Linked DNA regions of Homo sapiens: regions 2 and 3 are each linked to region 1. The links are contacts of gene promoters, found by promoter capture Hi-C in blood cells and fetal thymus (Javierre and others, 2016). All regions are on one chromosome and are shown on one strand. Each heading gives the region's core, a stretch centred on a gene start or on the middle of the fragment in contact. The rest is flanking DNA. Distances are from core to core; before and after follow the strand shown.

Region 1 (2,763 bases), core at 1-2,500:
ATCCGCGACGGTCCGAGCTGCTGATCGCCGTCCTGATCCATTGACTGGGAAAGAGGTTGGAAACATCACCGCAAAACATGCTGCAAACCCCGATTCGGACTCCGCTGGGGCCGAACCAACGCCCCCGCACAGCCCCGACTCCCTCCCCAGCAGCCAGCTCGCCACCGCCCCTCTCGCGACCAGCCATTTTCCAGGCCCGCGGGAACGCGCGCCGCGCCCCTCCCACGCCCCTCGTCAAGCCCGCAGGCCCCGCCCCCGGCGCGGGGGCCCTCCCCGCCACACACGCCCCTCTCTTCCTCTCCCGCGGGGGACCCCTCCCCTCTTAACCATTTTGCCGAAAGAACTGGGCTAGGGCTACAACGCGGGGCGCCCGCGAACTTTCCCGGGGCGAGAGAGCGGAACGGACTGCTCTCCTCCGGGCCGGGGCAGGAGCGCGGAGGAAGGCCCCCTCAGTCCGCCTCCGCGGCCTCTCGCCCCCTCCCCCCGCACGTTCCAAAGCACCCGCACTCCGGGGTGGGGGCGAGTGAGGTGGGGAAGCGCGCCCCGCAGACCAGCGGGAGCCCGGCCGCTCACTCCCTCCGACCCTTGCCCGGCTGCAGTCCCGGGCCGGGGCCGCAGGGTCTGCGGCACGGGGCGGGCCAGCGCCTGAACAAATGCTTGCTGCTTAAAATGGCTGATTCCCCTCAGCGGCAGCTGCAGCCGCTGGGTCTGCAGCGGGGGCTGACAAGCGGCCCCCACCCCCACTCTGGGGACCCCAGAGAAGTACTCGCCCACCGCGGGGCCACGGAGGGCCGCCAACCCGGTCTCCAGTCCTCCCAGTCCCGCTCGGCAGACCCTCGGTGCGCTCGGGGAGACTGTCACGGGAGAAAGGGAAGGTGGCACTCCCCCGGACAGGCTCCCCGCCACCGGCTCCCGAGGCCGGCAGCCCCGCGGCTCCTACCTTGATATTTGTTGTCCAGCTCTCGCAGCACAGACACGTTCCTCTGCATGTCGTGGGGCAGCGACTCCACGCACTCAAGGTAGTCCTGCACGTAGCAGGTGAGCAGCCGGCTCCGCTCCCCGGTCAGGAGCGCGGCCGACGAGTACAGTTGCTGCTGCTGCTGCCCTAACATCCTGCCGATCCGCGCCGTCGCCGCCGCCTCCGCATCCAGCAGCCGCACATGCACCGGCCGCGGCCGCCGCGGGCCCTCAGCTCAGCAGCCCGGCGCCGCGGGGACCCCGCAGCCGCTCGAGAGGGCACGGCCGCGCTCCCCGATCTCCACTCCCCCCAGAGCAGCCCTCACTCCCCGCCCCCGCAGCACCAGCCCAGGGGCGGGGCGAAACCGGGGCTCCCTCCTTTCTCCCCTCCCGCTCCAGGACCGGAGCAGTGGGGATCCCCTCGGCGGGGCCGGCGCCGGGGTCCCGGGCGCTGACACTTCCTGTCCCCCTCGGAGTCCCCAGATGCTACGAGTGCCGTCTCGCAGCCCGGATCCCCATGACAAGCCCGTCGCCGCCCGCCTGTCCCCAGTCACCCTCCGTGCCTCACGGAGAGCCTCCCGCTAGCCTGCCCCCGCCCCTCCGCCCGCGGCCGCCTCTGCGCCTGCGCAGCGCTCCCTGCGAATAAGGCCGGGGCCCGCCCCTACCGCCTACCGGAGGGTTCGCATTCTCCCGCCTTCGCTCCGCCGCCCGGGCGATTGGTCTGCCGGCTCTGGGCTAGCGGGGGAGGGTGTGGGGGGCGGCCAAACGGCAGGCCGCGCCCCGCCCCCCTTAAAGGGGAAGCCCGGGGAGCCAGTCTCTGCGCCTCGCGTCTGAATGGGACCCGGGAGGGGAGGCGGCTCGGTCCTTCGTGCCGTCCTCCCCGCTGGGAGGGGCAGCTCCAGCTCCGCTCGGCTCGCTCCGCCCGGCCACACCGGCTTTTTCCCCATCAGGCGGTCCGAGTGCGGCTCCTCGCGAGCCTGCAAAGGAGCAGCAGGCGGTTCCTTTTCGGACGACCTGGAGCGAGGCCTGCGGGACTGCGCGCCCCGGCGGGCGGCGTGCGGCTCCCGGCATGCGCGGCGGCTGCGTTCCCGCCGCCTCCGAGCTCGCCTGGGGCTGCCGCCCGCCTCCTGCCGGGCCCTCGGGCTCGCCCGGCACCGCGGGGCTTGATCAGGGAGGTAGGCGGTGCTCCCTCCGGCCCCCGGCGTCGTGTGCCCTGCGGGTTTCGTGGCCCTTCCCCTACGCTGGAATCTTCTGTGTCATTTAGGGGGAGGGGATGCGGGACGGCATCTGTTTGACAACGCATTGGTCCCACAGACAGCCTTTAAAAACAACTGCTTTTGGGGGGTGTCAGAACATTTAAGCACAGGACGTCGGTGAGGCTTCCTGGCGGAGTGGGGCACACGCCAGCTTTACGGGACTTTTTGCTCAGTCCTGCCCCAGGACTGCAATCGGAGGGGACCTGGGGCATGGAGGAGACGCGAGTGAAAACCTAGTCAGCGGGCGGGCCCTCGGCCCCATAATCTACGTGATCTCCTAGTGGGGTTTAATTTCGGTGTAGTGTAAATGAGATGTCAGGCAGAGGAGCTGATTTTAATTACAGATGGACATTTTTGAAAGAAATGGGTGCAAATAGAATGAATGCATGGATAATTTTAATGGAATGCCTATGTAAACAAGGCCAATTGTGAGTACTACCTTTGAGTTAAAATGTGAGTGAGTGGTGACAAATTTGGATCTTCTTAGATCCAGTTTGCAGCGTTGGTACACCTGAATGGTGACCTATTTAGAGCACTTTTGAAACAGCTG
Region 2 (2,700 bases), core at 144-2,643, 590 kb after region 1:
ACTTTGATATGGAGGAATTCTGGGGGGATGGCGGTCCGTCATACTCAAGCTGGTGCAAAAGATACCCGTGGTTGGACAGTGCGGAGGGGTCCTGGGTGAGCACTGAGTGGGCCTCCCAATGGGGCCTGTGCCTTCTTCAGTCACCCAGAGCCCCCAGCAGATCTTTAAGCAGTGACCTGGAAGCCAAGGGCCATGCAGTACATTTGCAGCACCTGCCCCACACCCCAGACTTCCCAGCTCTCCTGACTTCCCGTGTAGCTGATTTTGTTGGTTATGAGACACTGCCTTTTGTCCAAATTGAGGAGAGTACCTTTCAGAGCCCCTTTCTAGAAGGAATTTTTTTAAAAACCTGCATAGGTATTTGTCCAACTTCACCGATTGTTTTTTATTGAATAGCTCCTGAGCTCCTGGGCACTGGTTGTCTGTCTGCATTATTTTTTATTATCCATATGATACCTCTAGGTTTTCAAAGCTCTTTGCTCTTACTTATCAATTATTCATTTATATGTAGCTGTGTTAGAATGTCGACAGTTTTCTTTCACGAGAGTAAGCTTGTAATTTGATGTACCATAAAAGTTGTAGAAGGTATTAAATGGTTTCTAAAAGGCATTTAGTATTACTGCCGCCATAATACAGTAAAGATGGGCTTAAAGTCTAAATGACGATGACTGTGTATAAACTGTACACTTGTTGTCTTCTCAAGGTTTTTCAGGCCACAGAGAAGTAAATGTTTGGATTGCCTGGGATGTCACAGAAATGTTTGCTGATAATTGACTCAAATGCAAAGTCTTTTTTTTTTTTTTTGCTTTCGTTTTAAGATTTTCAAAATTAATTTAAAAAATAAGGGGATACTGCCTGGAGTTGGATAGCTCAACCCATTCTTTCCTCATCTACATTAATGGTGACTGAGCTGCTGTAGCAGGAAGGGTAAATTCATAGGTTAATCCCTGTAAAGGAGCTTTAGAGATTATCTCGAGTTCTGGACAATGATTTTTAACTCTTTTGAATGTACAGGACCCTCTTTTAAATGCTGAAAAACTTCCAGGACCCCTGCATAATGCTAAATTCTTAGTATCTTTTGAGTAAGAAACTCCACAATGACAAAAACTACTTCGTATCAGTAACATTTTTTGTTAATCTGAACTTTATTAATTGGATAGCATTTATGTATGTTTGGGAAAAGTTTATGTATGTCCTGGACATGGGATTTATCCAGTTGTGGATATGCTTGGACCCCTTGCAATACCTTAGTAGTGTCTCAGGGTTCTATGCCCACAGGATCTAAGCCTCCTCCTTTCTTGTAAGTAACTTCTATAATGTCACACATGCAGGGTGACATCTCCTAATTCCAAGGTCAGTGCTCTTCCTGCTACCTCCCTGTGTCTCTCCTGTGGGGCACATGAATTCAGCTGTACTGAAATGCCAATCATTGTCTCATTTTTTTTTGCAGTTGATCAGACTGAGGCTCCGATAAAATAATTACTCCTCAGAGATCAGGAGCTCGGGGAGGGGTGGCCTGTGTCCGGCATCATGCAGAAAGCCACATGCGTGGCTCACTGTAACATTTCTTCAAAGGGGAGTGCAGTGGACTGAATGTGTCTCCCCCCAAATTCACATGTTGAAACCCTAATTCCAATGTGCTGATATTTGGAGGTGGGGCCTGGGGGGACGTAATTAGGCCATGAGGGTGGAGCTCTCCTGAATGGGATTAGTGCCCTTCTAAAAGGGACCCCAGGGAGCTCAGTTACTCTTTTTCCATGTGCAAGGATAGGCGGAGAAGATGGCTATCTGCAACCCTGAAAGGAGACCTTGCCAGAATCTAACCATGCTGGTGTCCTGACTTCCAGCCTCCAGAACCATGAGAAATAAATGTCCATTGTTTCTCAGCCACCCAGTCTATGGGACTTTGTTATAGCAGCCCCAAGGGACTGTGACAGGGAGCTTGAGAACTGTGTAAATTTGAGTTTACCAAATAACATACAGCTTAATACTGCTTTATTAATTCCGTAAGTCGGAAGTCATTAGTCCTGATTGATGCCTTGTGGGGAGGAGGGAAACACACACTACTTGTAACATAATAGGAAGATGGAGCTTTTCCTGGGCTGTGTCTCTAGAGAGTTATTTTTAAAGGGTGTTTTTGTTCTTCCAGTCTTGGGATCAAAACTTCATAAAACTATTTTATTATAATGTAGTATTAATGTGGAAAATGAAAATTCCCTCTGCTAAAGAAGCTTTTTATTCCATCCTTTTCCTGAAAAATCCAAAAGATAATATGATGTCAGTAACATTAAGTGGCAGGAAGAAGGCAATGTTATTATACTAAGAATCTTTTCAGATGAATGACAATTAAAAAAGAGGAAGCAGCAGATTTATCTAATTTACAAGATTAAAAAACTTGGGAAGATTTTTATTTTCATGAGGGGGTGGGTTGCTAAACCTGTGATGAAGTATTCAGTTGACATTTTTCATTCCTTTTTCTTTGTGGAATTCATTATAGTGAAGCACATTTAATCAAAATACCAATGTTATCAAATGAGGTAAAATACTCTTGGTGATTCAGATATCACTCTTTCCTTGGGTTTTCGTAACCGATTTTGATGATATAGTTTACAAATTAGAGAGTTGGAGAATTAACTTGTTCCCGTTGTTAAACTTAAGGGAATTTTTAGTAATGCTTGCCACATGTATCCAGCTGCCCAG
Region 3 (2,700 bases), core at 12-2,511, 940 kb before region 1:
AACTTTAGTTTTTAAATCAAATATTTAGAATGTCATGGAGAAAGAACAATGATATTACAAATGCCATCATAAAGGAACCTTAGGGAGACTATTTTAAAGAAATTTTGAATCTAAATATTTAAAGCTTTTCTTATTTTATAAGTATTTTATGTATTTGATTGGTAAGGTAAAGCACATACGTATTGTTAGGTAAACTCGACTTAAAGGAAATAATACTTTTAAATGGCTACTTAAGATTTCAAATTTTATAAAAATATTTAGGAAAAGTATTTTTCCACTTTCTAATAAGCAGAAATAGTTTGCATTACATTTTTTCATTTCAGAACTAAACAGTGCTATTATTCACTACATTAAGCCTAGTGTGTGCCAGATTAATGTGTAATATAAATACAGTTTAAGGAAAATGATGCTGATTTTTCGTGTAGCGTGATAACAATAATATATTCCAAAGATTGAAATAACTTGAAATCTACTGCAAGCCCCAAATCCCTTATTTGCAATCCAAAATGCTCTGAAACTGAAAGTTATTATCATGACTCATTTGGCAGGATAGTCTGCCCTGAATTGACATGAAGCTATTCATAGCTTTTATTTATCCCAATCAGTGTGAATGTTCGTGTTTCACTGCAGAAATATTAACTGTGTTGGATTAAGGGGTTCTGCCCTAATTACTTTCCGGGGTGTTTTGTTCCTTGTGGTATATGGTATGTGTACCGCATTATCTTGCTAACATCCACACACTTTTGAATTCTGAAGACTTTATCTGGCCCCAAGATTTTGAATAGAAGACGGTGAGCCTGCGTCAGTATACCTAGCCCCTACAACCAGAGGCTTCTCACATCCTGGTGTTTCCAGGAACAGTCGCTCTTTATATCTGTTTCAGGTGTCAGTATTAATGAGACCCCATTCACATTCAGAAGTGCTCCATTTTGGCTTGGTCACCATACTAACCACATACCATAGTTCTTGGTAACGGCCAGCGCAGTGTTGGTGAACATCAGTACATTTCTAGTGAATTCCCATGTATAAAATAAACAAGATCTACATAAACAACATTCCAGATTGTATCTTGAAAACCTAAAGTCATTTAAAGCATTATTGGTAAGGTATCCCCGACTGCCTGTCTAGATGGCATTTCCCACGCATTGGTGCACGCTTCTTTTGATGGCAGTTCATCCTTCTCCTCACTGTGATTGCCTGTGTCCCTGTCTTCTCTTTCTAGGCTGCAAGCTCCTTCCGTCATTGCGTATCACTGTGCTGGGCGTATATAGCAAGTTCATTATTTAGTCAACTAATATTTATTGAGCGTTGGCCTCTGCCGTACTCTGGGCCCTGGGAATAGCATGGTGAACAAAACAGAATTGACTTTGGTCCTCATGGAGATTCTTGTCTACAGATTTGGGGGCCTGGCCTGGTGAAATGGAGAAGGTTTGCTGTCAAGTGACTTTGAAGCCAAATCTGAAAAATGAGTAAGAGTTAGCTTGGGAGAGGGGATGCTCTTGAGGCTGAGGGGTGACAGACGCAGAGACTTGGGACGGACCCCTCGCTGGAGGCTTGTGGGGTAAGGACAGGCTTTAGGCAGTGGAATGATGAGAGTCTGTTTGTGCTTTTGGAAGGGTGTTCTGGCTGTAGGGCAGAGCTGGGTTGGGGTTGGGGGCCGAGGAGAGCAGTCTGAATGGCTGCCTGGTCCAGGCTTTGTGGAAGGAAGGATCGGTTCTTCACCCCTGGTTTCGGTTTCTGTTCTCAGTGTGGGAGCTGTTCTTGGACAGTGCTGTGTGCTCTTCTCCGGAGTCCGAGGCCAGGGGAGTAACTGCAGTGTTCAGCCAAGTACGAGCAAGTGGAACTGACAGTTGTTCAGGCTTCCGTCTTGCACACGTCGAGGAAACGTTGTAAACAAGAAACAAAAAGCAAAGCCCTTACTCCTAGTGGGTCTTCCCTGAGCCAAGTGCTTGAAAAGCTGTGGGAGTGGGAACTGTTGTCATGATCGAAAATGAAACTATTCTGGGAATGCCAGATTTGGGGCGCTGGGAACCCTGAAGTGTCCTGCAGAGAACTGGTGGTGGAGGGGCCTCTGGAGGACAAACATCTACAATTTGCAAATCTATCAGTGACCCAGCGATGGCACTTCTGGCGGTTTTTCTTCCACCTTAACTTTGAGGTGAGGCAGAGTGACTTGGAAACCAATTCTGTGCTTTAAAATATAAAACATAAATAACTTCTATTGAATTAGCACAGAAGTTTGGCTGGAGGTAAATCTTTGGCGCCTAAATCTGAGCGCTTTTCTCTCAAATACGCACGAGAGCTCTTTGGCCGTCTTATTTCTCCTCTTCTACACAACTGAACAATTTAAATGAATTATGGACCATCACTCCTCATCTCCCCCAGGAAATGAAGCTTAGAGCCTCCTTGTTCAGCTAATTGTTGCTTGATTAAGCTGCCCCTTATGGATGGATAGATAAAGTGATTGATGCATGTGCTTATTAATACCATCCTGGTGCACGGAGGACGAATAAACCGCCAGCAGCTTCATTTAAGCACCACAAAGGGGGTTTCCTAGAGTTTGTTGTATTTGCAGAAAGGCTGTCGTCGTCTTTCCCTCTGTACTGGAAATTACTTACCTACTTGGTATTGTCTTTCTGGCCAAGTCGTTTTCTTTTGAGCTAATTTCAGACTTCCACCACAGTTTAACAATAGTACAAA

Evidence for each region. Contacts are between HindIII fragments. The CHiCAGO score rates a contact against its expected background, and 5 or more counts as called.
Region 2: a fragment that was not itself captured here is called in contact with the fragment with the promoter of ING2 in region 1 in 3 of 17 cell types (activated CD4 T cells, monocytes and total CD8 T cells); the score reaches 8.2 in activated CD4 T cells.
Region 3: a fragment that was not itself captured here is called in contact with the fragment with the promoter of ING2 in region 1 in 1 of 17 cell types (neutrophils); the score reaches 5.0 in neutrophils.

What each region holds. Positions count from the first base shown.
Region 1 is chr4:183,503,545-183,506,307 of GRCh38, reverse strand. ING2 (inhibitor of growth family member 2) reads right to left here and starts at 1,250. Exons shown (of 2, transcript NM_001564.4): 1 at 941-1,250. The coding sequence starts at 1,112. It overlaps ING2-DT (ING2 divergent transcript), which reads left to right and starts at 1,793. Exons shown (of 3, transcript NR_033995.2): 1 at 1,793-2,132. RefSeq lists silencers at 189-908, 1,129-2,168. The HindIII fragment of the contact is 10,965 bases long and covers 1-2,763 here.
Region 2 is chr4:182,910,254-182,912,953 of GRCh38, reverse strand. All of the region lies in intron 3 of DCTD (dCMP deaminase), which reads left to right. Among named protein-coding and RNA genes, the nearest start is that of DCTD, 5.8 kb to the left of the region's middle. The HindIII fragment of the contact is 1,680 bases long and covers 554-2,233 here.
Region 3 is chr4:184,448,098-184,450,797 of GRCh38, reverse strand. The region is part of intron 1 of IRF2 (interferon regulatory factor 2); the gene reads left to right. Among named protein-coding and RNA genes, the nearest start is that of IRF2, 25 kb to the left of the region's middle. The HindIII fragment of the contact is 2,270 bases long and covers 127-2,396 here.